Linked DNA regions of Homo sapiens: region 2 is linked to region 1. Evidence: promoter capture Hi-C in 16 types of primary human blood cells and fetal thymus (Javierre and others, 2016). All regions are on one chromosome and are shown on one strand. The core of a region is centred on a gene start or on the middle of the fragment in contact, and the rest is flanking DNA. Distances in the headings are between cores, read along the strand shown. Region 1 holds the start of UBASH3A (ubiquitin associated and SH3 domain containing A). Region 2 overlaps UMODL1 (uromodulin like 1).

Region 1 (5,787 bases), core at 862-3,361:
CAAGTTAGAAAAAACTAATCCATATACAGTCACTTGATTTACAATAAGCCTCCTACTGCAATTCACTGGGCAAAGGATAGCCCTTTCAATGCGGAAGTAGATGAAAGTTTACCCCTACCTCACACCATACACAGAATGAATTCAAATGGATCATAGAGCTAAATATGAAGAGCAAAAGTAGCAAAACTTCTAGAACAAAACATAGATGATCTTCATCGATGTTGGATTAACAACAATCTCTTGAACAGGATGCAGAAAACTCTAACCAGAGTTCCCACAAATTGATAAGAAAAGCAAACACCCTAGTGAAAAAAAAAAAAGAGCAGAATATCTGAACAGGAACTTCCCCAGAGAGGATATTCAAATGGGCAATAAGCCTGTGAAATGGTGCCCAATATCATTATCCCTCAGGGAAATACAAATGGGAACCACAGGGAGATACAACTACACACCACCCCCACCACAGAGTGGCTAAAATTAGGGACTGATAATATTAAGTGTGCATGAGGATATAGAGCTTTGTACAACTGCTTGGCAGTTCCTAATGGAGTTTCACGTGCTCTGTGATCCAACAACCCCACTCCTAGATGCACACCTAACAGAAATGCATGCACAAGGCACTCAAAGACACATACAAGAACGTCCTCAGCAACATTAGTTACAATAGCAAAACAACCGAAAACTTCCTGAATGCATATCAACAGAGAAATGGATAAATGAATTATGTTATATTTATTTTATTTATTTATTTTTGAGCTGGAGTCTCACTCTGTCCCAGGCTGGAGTGCAGTGATGCAATCTTTGCTCACTGTAACCTCCACCTCCTGGGTTCAAATGATTCTCCTGCTTCACCCTCCTGAGTAGCTGGGATTACAGGCATGCACCACCATGCCCAACTAATTTTTGTATTTTTTAGTAGAGACAGGGTTTCAACATGTTGGCCAGGCTGGTCTCGAACTCCTGACCTCAGGTGATCCACCCCCCCCTTGGCCTCCCAAAGTCCCAAAGTGCTGGGATTACAGGCGTGAGCCACCACGCCTGGCTGGTATATTTATTAATCAAATACTACACAGCAATAACAGTGAACTAACTGTGGCTACAAGCAATAATGTGGATAAATTTTACAGGCATAATTTGAGGAAAAAGAAATGAGATATGATAGAGAATATGCTATATGGTTCTATTTACATAAGGCTCAACCACAGGCACAATTCATATACAAGTGATACAGCAGTTTACTTTCTGGGGGAGGGAGGAGATAACTGGAGGAGGCTGAGCTGGGGGCAGAGGTGCATCTGAGGTTCTGAGAATGTTCCAGAGCAGGCTATCTCCACCTTGGCACTAGTGAAATTTTGTTGGGGAGACTGTCCTGGGCACTGTGACATTCCCGGCCTCTACCCACTAGTGCCGGTACCACGATGTCCACCCCACCCACCACCACCCCCGCCTCATTTTGGAAACAAAAATGTCTCCAGACATTTCCAAATGTCCCCTTGGGTGGAGGAGGTACAAAATTCCCCTGGTTGCCCTGTTTGATTTTGGGTCGTGGGGGAATTAGGGGTGTGGGCTCATTTATGGAAATTCCTTGAGCTATACACATATGATTCATCAACTTTTCTGTACACATATAAAGCTTTTAAAGTTTTTAAAATAAAAAAACAAGTCAATGAATGACTGAAAGAACCAGTAAGTTTTCCAGCAATCCGAGACAATAGATAGAGTGGGGTTTAATGTCTTGTTCACAGACAAGGAGACTGGGATCCAGGGTGGGTCAGGGCAGGGGGCCAGCAGGATCCAGGAGGGAACTCATTCCCTGACTTCTCCTCCGCTTCCTTCCCCCATGCTCTCACGCATTCTTGCTCCCGAATACTAGCCAAGTCCCTACAGAGGCTGATCCCGTGCAGGGGCTCGGTTGGACCTTTAGCCTCAAACTCCCGTGGTGGAAACAGTTAGGATTGGTGGACGCTGCACCCAGCATCCTGCAAACAGAATTCTGAAAACTGATATCTCATGCAAACAGGATATCAACTTTTGTCAGAAAGATCAAAAAGAGCTTGAGGTTTTTCTTCACAGCCTCAGCCTTGCCTCTCCCCCTCTTGCTTTATCTCCTCATTTCTGTGTGCAGGCGAGCTTCTTGGCCTAAGGGCAGGAAGAGATGGCAGCGGGGGAGACGCAGCTCTACGCCAAGGTCTCCAACAAGCTCAAGAGCCGCAGCAGCCCCTCGCTCCTGGAGCCCCTCCTGGCCATGGGCTTCCCGGTGCACACCGCGTGAGTACTGCCCAGAGACCCCGGGGCCCAGCCAGTAAGGCTGGTGCCAGACCCTGCTGCGGCCCCCGGCATGGAGCTGCAGGGGTGTAGGGTACGGCTTCCTGCCAAAGCAGTGCACCTTGCAGGGTAAGACACTGCCTCTTCACAGGGCCCTCTTCTGCTTCTCGTAAATGAGGTGATCTTGACCAAGCTTGTCCAACCCACATGAGGCCCAGGACAGCTTTGGGCTTAAGCCATCATCCCACCTCAGCCTCCTAAGGCTGCCCTGTTCAATTTGTGTTGGCTGCCCAACACAAATTGGTAAACTTTCTTAAAATATTATGAGATTTTTTTTTTAGCTCATTAGCTATTATTAGTGTTAGCGTATTTTATGTGTGGCCCAGGGAGGCACAAGAATACCCCTGATATTCTTGACCTTTTAAAGACCAGCTCGGCTGGCTGACTGGGGGACCCTGAAATTTGTGAAAATCAGAAGCCATGTATTACTCTGGGTGCCCCATTTTGGGGGTTTGGAGGAGATTGGGGCCTGGTTGTAATCTCTTTGTGTGCAGCTCAGTGACTCTGAAAGTGGCGTTTCAAGATATTCAAACTCTAACGTGAAAGGCCCCAAAGCCCGCTGAGTCTCTAACACTGGGACCAACTGTCAGCAGGGCTGTGCTTCCACGCTGCCCGGGGAAAGTCACTTGTCCTCAGAGACAATCCCTTGAGTGTCTGATAACGAAACAAATGGGTAGGAAACTTCAGACACAGTGTGAGCGCGACCCTGCTTACCCAAGGGAAAGGCCTGCATGTGGAAGAGCTTAGCCTTCAGAGTTACCACTCTCGGAGAGGGAGGCCACGACACCAACATTGGGTTACAGCTTTCATGGCAAACCAGTGCCTTAAATCTGACCCATTCATTTTTTCACATGGAAAAATGTATCAGAAACACACTTTAAATCTGACCCATTCATTTTTTCACATGGAAAAATGTATCAGAAACACACTTTAGGTAACTTTGGGTTGGGGAAGGAGCTAAACTTTCCTTCCACACTATAACAAAAGCTTGGCCAAATTGGGTGAAGTAACTCTGAAGCTAGACAAACCCATTTCTTCTCCCCAAATCAGGGCTTTGTCGTCACTGTTATGTTCAAGCTAAGCCAGGGGCCTTTGAATGGGGAGTGGGGTCAGGCATGTGCAGGGCGGCCACCGGGCACCGTCCAGGCATTACAGACAAGGCAGCTTTTGTCCACTGCTCACCACCCAGTGCAGGCAGGACACTGGGCCCAGAGAGTGCATTAGTGGCGGAGGTGGAACCCGAACCAGCTTTCCATGCCTTTGAAGGAGTCCACGCTGGATTTTACTACTAAACGTATAGCATGGACTTCTACTCAAAATTCCTTCCAGTTTAAACATTAAGCACATGTTGGAGGAAGAGAAATGTGTGTTAATTTCCCCACACCAGAGCACCTCATAGTAAGTGCCCTGCACCAAGGCTGCCTTGTTCAAACCTCTCCAGGTGGCCACAGCCCCATCGGTGCCCACCCAAATAGCAGCATTCGGCATCATGTGGTGGGTTCCTCATGGACGCCCGCTGTTTCCAGTCTGCATTCCTGATAAATTACCTTTGCTATATTCCATTCTGTTTCATTTGGTCCAGTTCTGCCCAATTCAATGCAATGTACTTACGTCCCGGGTTACCGTGATGAATAAGACTCAGTCCTGTGTTCAGGGAGTTCTTGGTCTAGCAGGGGAGAGCCGTGGGTGCAAGGGGACTGTGTAAGCCGTAACAAGTGCCTGCCTGGGTGCTTTGGAAAGGGCTGTTTCCCAGCAGAGAGGTGTGGGAGGCGAGCCTGGGGATCAGGGTCGCTGATGCTGGGGTGAGGAAAGCGTGTGTCCGAGCCAGGGGCACGTTCCGCAGGGTGGGTCCATTTGATCTAGGCAGTGGGGGGGGGGGGGGCAGGCCAGGGAGAGGGATTGCAGGAGCGGGCGGAGGTCAGGTCCTCAGCCCTGAGACCCCGTGCCAAGGGCTGAAGCGGGTAGCCAGGGAAGGACAGTGAGGGGGAGGTGTGAGCTGGTCAGCATTGTCCAAAACCACGATGGCAGCACTCAGGGGACAGGCGCTAGAACTTCCAGCTGGAAGTTCAGCATCAGGCCCTCTTCAGAGCACCCCCCAAAGATCCTGGGTGTGCAAGGCCACACCCTGCCTCTCTGACCCTTTTCCCAAGAATGGGCGACGTGACTTTGTGTCTGTGTCTGCTCTTCTGCAGGCTGAAAGCGTTGGCAGCCACGGGGAGGAAGACGGCGGAGGAGGCCTTGGCCTGGTGAGTGCAGCTGCTTCTGTAGACCCAGGGGCGTTTGGGCTGAATTCCCTGTGCCTAAGGACTCCCTCCCACCAGGGCTGATACCAGGAAGAGCCGGGCGCCTCTGGGTGGGATGGGGCCACTGCGGAAGTGAAACAAAATAACCTCCCTGCCTACCCATAGTGCACTGAGGGAGGGGCACAGGGCTTTGGTTAACCATGGAAAGAGAAAGAGAGAACTCTGAACAAGGCTTTCTTCACTTACAAACCTGATTCAATCCAATTTGACTGCCAAGAAGAACAGGTTCATGTGCTTTGTTGAGTAAATGGGGAAGACATGATTGTTGTGTTGTGATAAGCACGTAAATGAGGGTAATTGTTAGAATAAAGTAATTAGGTTAAAAATGGTAACATTTGGGTTTATATTAGTACTGCTAATATTCAGCCTATTTCAGTAATTGAAGAGCAGGCTGGGATTTTGCATACTTGTGTTTGATTATGTCCTCCTCAACTGCCTACTACGATGGATAAGATTGAGATAGATAGGAGGATGTTTGTGTTTATTGATGGAAAGATTTGAGACATAATTGACATCTTTGCTGATAGAGACTAGCGGCCACCATGCTCTCGGGCTGCCTCTGAGGGGAAGGGAGTTTACTGGTGGTCATGAAGCCAGGTGTGTGGGTCTAAGGGTGCCAGGTGTGTGGGTCGGGTGAGGGCTCTGATTTGAGGTGACCTCACCAGGTACCAGCTGCGTGAGTGATTCTTCAAGCCACCCACTGCCATGGGCCTGTTCTCTGCTCTGGGGATGGAGAGGAGGGCCACCGTTTCTCTAAAACCCTCTCCTACCCGGATGTGCTGTGGGGAGTCCTTCATCCTCTGCCCTGAGATAGCCACGGGGAAAATCAAACAATAAAAACCAGGTCCTGGGAGGCTGGAGTGTCCTCTCCAAAGCAGGAGGGCAGATACTGATCCTGGGTCTCTGAACGTGCAGTGTTCCCAATGGGATGCCCCCTCCTCCTCCAGAAAGTGTAGGCCACGGGCAAAATGGGCAACCCCTTCACAGAGTCCACTAAAGCCAGTTGCCAATTTTGGATCAGAAACAAGCCCACTGCTGTGAAGGGCATGGCCAGCACCTGCCCACTGCAACCCAGTCAATAAGACTAGGAACCCCACCAAAAAATAGGGAGGCAATGGGGTCCCCTAGACTGTCAAGAGCACCCCAACCTCTCACTAGT
Region 2 (5,651 bases), core at 1,112-3,611, 260 kb before region 1:
CGTGTGGTGTGGATGCCACAGTGGACCCCCCACACCTTGCTGCTCATGCCCGCAGCCCCGACTTATGTATGACCTTTTGAGGCTGAAGATGCTTCTCTGATCTGCCCTGTGGACTTTTGTTTTTCCTGGGCCTGCACATAGTTCACCACAAATGAATGACAAGCATTATGGAGGGCAGTATGGTTAGTATAAACCTTCAGTGGGAAACACCAAGACTGGGACTTTTGTAAAGATTTTCAGATTTTTTTTTTTTTTGAGATGGAGTTTTGCTCTTGTTGCCCAGGTTGGAGTGCAGTGGTGCGATCTTGGCTCACCACAACCTCCACCTCCCAGGTTAAAGCGATTCTCCTGTCTCAGCCTCCTGAGTAGCTGGGATTACAGGCATGCGCCACCACACCCAGCTAGTTTTGTATTTTTAGTAGATACAGGGTTTCTCCATGTTGGTCAGGCTGGTCTCCAACTCCTGACCTCAGGTGATCCACCCGTCTCGGCCTCTCAAAGTGCTGGGATTACAGGCGTGAGCCACCGTGCCCGGCCAAATTTTGAGATTTTTCTAAAAAAAGAACATGCCTGTAATCCTAGCACTTTTGGAGGCCAAGGCAGGAGGATCGCTTAAGCTTAGGAGTTCCAGACCAGCCTGGGCAAGATAGAAAGACTCCATCTCTACAAAAAATACAAAAATAAGCCGGGTGTGGTGGCACACACCTGTGGTCCCAGCTACTTGGGAGGCTGAGGTGGAAGGATCCCTTGAGCTCGAGAGGTGGAGGTTGCAGTGAGCCGAGACTGCCCCACTACACTCCAGAGGGGAACCCTGCCTCAAAAATAAATAAATACTAATAAAAGAAGAAGAGAAGCAATCATGAGGCTTATCTGGCAGCGTGTGAGACTGCTGACTCCAAATGCTGTAAGGGAAGCATGCGGCTTCGGCTTCTGGGGAGGCCTCAGGAAACTTACAATCATGGCAGAAGACCAAGGGGAAGCAGGCACGTCTTCCATGGCTGGAGCAGGAGGAAGGGGTTGGGGCAGGTGCTACAGATGTTTAATCAACCAGATCTTATGAGAGCTCTATCGTGAGACAGCACCAAGAGGATGGTGCTAAATCATTTATGAAGGATCCGCCCCATGATCCAACCACCTCCCACCAGGCCCCACCTTTAATATGGGGATCACATTGAACATGAAATTTGGGTGGGGACACAGACCCACACCATATCAACTGCCCACCCTCTCAGCCAACAGGAGAACAAGGAAAGACGAGAGGCCAATTTTCCCTCGATGTTTTAATTTCAAGGAGGGGGACATCCAGCATGACCCAGCACCGACCCACCAGATGTCCTTAGAAAGCTAGTGGGATAGTGTTGGCCTCATCGCTGGGATTCGCATCTTAAATATTAAGTAAAAGGCACTGACATTTCCTCGTAACTCTATCTAGGGAGGTGACTGGTCTCTAGCACTGGTCCCGTCTATGCTGTAAGGGTCCTGAGACCCCAGAATACTGCGCATGTTAGTTACCAGGAGTCCTGGCAGGAGAGACGGGAAAGACAAAGCTAACACAAGCGTCCCCCTCACATGGGCAGAATCACTTCCACAAGCGGGTGGCGTTTTCTTTGAAGTTGCCCAGCAAGGGCAGCATGGAGGTTGCCTTTTGGAAACGTGTGCTGTAGTCTGGGCTTTGCTGGTGACCTGGGAGGATTGGCTTGAGTTCTCTGGGCCCCATTTCCTCATTTTAAGATTGGAGCCAGTGTCTACTACACTTTGCTGAGTTGTTTCAAAAATCTGTTATCTCAAGAAAATAAGGACCTGAGCACAGGAAAGATGGGCTGGGCTGGAGAAGCTGCCTGCCCGACGAAGAGGGGGTGGGCTGATGTTGACAATGTCTGTTGTTTCCCAACATCCCCGTGAGGTTGTGCTGTTATTAGCATCCTGTGTTATAGATGGGAATCCAGGGCAGAAAGGGATAGACGTCCCAGGTCACGTGGCTAGGAGGTCCAGGGCAAGAAGGGATAGGTGTCCCAGGTCACGTGGCTAGGAGGTCCAGGGCAGGAAGGGATGTGTCCCAGGTCACGTGGTTGGGAGGTCCAGGGCAGGAAGGGATAGGCCTCCCAGGTCACATGGCTGGGAGGTGGCCGAGCTGGGGCTGCATGGGATTTCCGTTTGGCTCTGGGGTCAGCTCTCTTAGCTACCAAGCTTAGAGCCTTTCTTACACTAGTGTTCACATGACTGATGGACCCTTAGAACAATGCCCCTTGCCTTTCCCCTTCATCAGAGACCCGGAGAATTTGTATTTTAGCAGCTGTGCAAGGGGATCCACAATTCTTAATTCTTGCAGTGGGGACACCAGGTGTCCCAGTTGAGAGGCAGCAACTGTTGTGGTTACAGGGAAGGAGCCTTCCCAGGACCCCTGAGCCTCCCCGGGAGGCAGGTGCTGCTGCTCAATTGTGGTCTGGGTCCTCAGCCACCTCCGGGGATCCCAAAGGGGCAGGGAACAACAGCGAAGTTTCAGTTCAACTTTACACTCTAATAGTGAAAAATAAGGAAGCTTCCTCAGTTTGGTAGCTTTTGGCCTCTGGTTTGGGGCCCATGGGGTTTGGGCCATGAAGACCCCCTCCTCACCAACCCCATTGCCTCCCATCCTGGGCAGGAGACATTGTCAATACCAGCCCGCCCCCTCTTCGTCAGGCAGGCAGCTTCCCCAGCCAAGCCCGTCTTCCCTGTGCTCAGGTCCTTATTTTCTTGAGATAACAGATTTTTGAAACAACTCAGCAAAGTATAGTAGACACTGGCTCCAATCTTAAAATGAGGAAATGGGGCCCAGAGAACTCAAGCCAATCCTCCCAGGTCACCAGCAAAGCCCAGACTACAGCACACGTTTCCAAAAGGCAACCTCCATGCTGCCCTTGCTGGGCAACTTCAGAGAAAACACCACCCGCCTGTGGATGTGATTCTGCCCATGTGAGGGGGATGCTTGTGTTAGCTTTGTCTTTCCCGTCTCTCCTGCCAGGACTCCTGGTAACTAACATACGCAGTATTCTGGGGTCTCAGGACCCTTACAGCATAGACAGGGCCAGTGCTAGAGGCCAGTCACCTCCCTAGATAGAGTTACGAGGAAATGTCAGTGCCTTTTACTTAATATTTAAGATGCGAATCCCAGCGATGAGGCCAACACTATCCCGCTAGCTTTCTAAGGAAATCTGGTGTATTGGTGCTGGGTCATGCTGGATGTCCCCTTCCTCGAAATTAAAACATCCGAGGGAAAACTGGCCTCTTGTCTTTCTTTGTTCTCCCGGGGCTCCTGTCTTTCGAAGTGAGAACTGTCTCACCAGTTCTAAAGTTCCTGCAGACATCTGCTCTTTGAAAACCATCAGCCAACCCACCCACCCCCACCAGGTCGACCCTTGGGCAGCCCCACTCAGAGATGTTCCCAGAGTCCTGGTGGGTTCTCCACGGATGGTGCAAAGGTGCAGGGGCCCCAGCTGTGCTCGTCTGGCTCAGGTATCTTCACCAGCCACCCCCACCAGTTGGCGTGTCAGGAGCATCGCTCACCTGAGGGCAGGCACAGCCCCATGGTCCCCGTTCCACTGGGCACTCTGGGAGTGGCTGCCTTTTCATTAGGGGCTTGATCTGTCCCTCTCCAGTAAACATAGACGCCATGTCCTCGGGTTGGTGTTTCCTCCACTACCCCTCCTCCTGGGGTTTTCTGTATTAACTTTACCTTTCCTGCGTGCAAGCTGACCCAGGTGACCTCTTCCTCCACACAGGTCGCCGTGAGTCAAGCTGCCTCCAGAACCTCAGAGCTTCCCTGGTGGGCTCCCCCGGGATCCCCAGTGTCTCTCTGCACCTCCACCCATCCCTCGGTTCTTAACTCTTCAAGCCTTAACGGAGGTCTGCTCTGACGGGTGGGCTCTGCCAGAGCCCGGGTGAGCCCAGAAAGGAAGACAGCAGCCACCGTCTGTCCCGAAGAGGCAGGCCGTCCTGTAGGTCCTAGAGGAGCCACAGCCCAGGGGCAGATGAAGGGGCTGCGGAAGACGGGGGCAGTCCTGGGGGTGCTGCGGCTACACCACCACCCGCGCGGCCCCCGCAGCCTAGACCTCCCAGGCCTGTGACCCTCCACACCAGCCCTCAGAACCCTCCTGGGCTTGCCCTCCCTTGGCGTCCGTCACCCTTTGGCAAATATAGAATATTTCACATTCTCAGAGAGACCCGACCGCGCTCTTGATGCTCTTTCGAAAATAGGTCAGTCTTAGAAATACACTGCTAATGTTATTTTTAGTGGATGTTTATGCTGTTTGACTTTTCTCCTGTGTACCAAGGTATTGCTTTTATTTACACGACAGCGACTCAAAAGGCACTCGATTAATGTGACAACCTTTTCAATAAGCAGAAATAACGTAGGTACACATCACTCTTTACATTTTTCTAAGCATTTTCACAGCCGTTTCTTCATATAATCCGACCACAGTGGGAGGTGTGATTTACCCATTACACAATGAGAAACCAGAGGAGCCGATGAGTTACTTAATTGAGGTCACAGAATGAATTAGCAAGAAAATGGTTCTAAAATCTAAGTATTTTAGTCTAGAATTTTCTCCATTACATCATCCTAAGAGATAATGCTCTGTACTTCATTTGAAATAAACTGGAATTGTATTAGATAGCTCACACCTGAAAGTAGAGTGTTTTTCCTCAGTGAACTTAGAATTATAACATGGCCTTAGTTTTCAACCCATGATACTAATTTTGTTGAATATAATTAATTGTCATTCATACAGAACATTTGGGGAAAGGAGTATTTTGATTTACTGGATATTCTCAGAGTCAGTAAAGAATGACAGTGGGTAATATGTGTGGATCACAGATTCTGATCAAGTAGAATCAATCGCATAAGACACTGAAATGTGGCTGGTTGTGCTGGATGCTCCATTTGGGATGGTCCATCACAGGCTCGCTGAGCATCCAACGAGGGCCGGTGCTGTGTTGGGCACGCTGGGGAGGCCAGAAACGCATCTCTGGTTCTTCCCAAGTCATGTCCCGCTGTTCTGATGTCAGCTGAGGAGCTTTCACTTGCCTTTCTTGGAAGAGCATGACACATATTCAGTAAAACCAGCTGTTGAGCCCCATGACTGTGTGGCTCTTTGGATTTCAGATAAAGTCATTGACATATATTTAAAAACCCTGTCTTTCAAACTTCATCTACAGTTTTCAAGTAATTTTTTTTTTTTTGAGACAAAGTCTCGCTCTTGTTGTCCAGGCGGGAGTGCAATGGCGTGACCTCGGCTCACTGCAACCTCCACCTCCCGTGTTCAAGCAATTCTCCTGCCTCAGCCTCCTGAGCAGTTGGGATTACAGGCTCCTGCCAACACGCCTGGCTAATTTTTGTATTTTTAGTAGAGATGGGGTTTCACCATGTTGGCCAGGCTGGTCTCGAACTTCTGACCTCAGGTGATTCACCTGCCTCAGCCTCTCAAAGTGCTGGGATTACAGGCATGAGCCGCTGCGCCTGGCCTCATGTAATCTTAATACATGTGCCACGTCTGTTCATTTGTGTTTTCTGTAATAATGAAAACTTGGTTTCCTGTCATCCTACCTCCCCCATCCAAGTCTATTCTTCGACAAACACTTCCTGAGCACTCACAGTGCTCCAGGCCCTGAGC

Evidence for each region. The method cuts DNA at HindIII sites, captures the fragments that hold promoters and counts their contacts. A CHiCAGO score of 5 or more calls a contact.
Region 2: a contact is called between a fragment that was not itself captured here and the fragment with the promoter of UBASH3A in region 1, in 2 of 17 cell types (M0 macrophages and M1 macrophages). The highest score is 7.0, in M0 macrophages.

The regions. Positions count from the first base shown.
Region 1 is chr21:42,401,791-42,407,577 of GRCh38, forward strand. It overlaps UBASH3A (ubiquitin associated and SH3 domain containing A), which reads left to right and starts at 2,112. Exons shown (of 15, transcript NM_018961.4): 1 at 2,112-2,268; 2 at 4,518-4,571. The coding sequence starts at 2,156. The HindIII fragment of the contact is 825 bases long and covers 1,632-2,456 here.
Region 2 is chr21:42,138,338-42,143,988 of GRCh38, forward strand. It overlaps UMODL1 (uromodulin like 1), which reads left to right. Exons shown (of 23, transcript NM_001004416.3): 23 at 3,759-4,659. Among named protein-coding and RNA genes, the nearest start is that of UMODL1-AS1, 33 kb to the left of the region's middle. The HindIII fragment of the contact is 352 bases long and covers 2,186-2,537 here.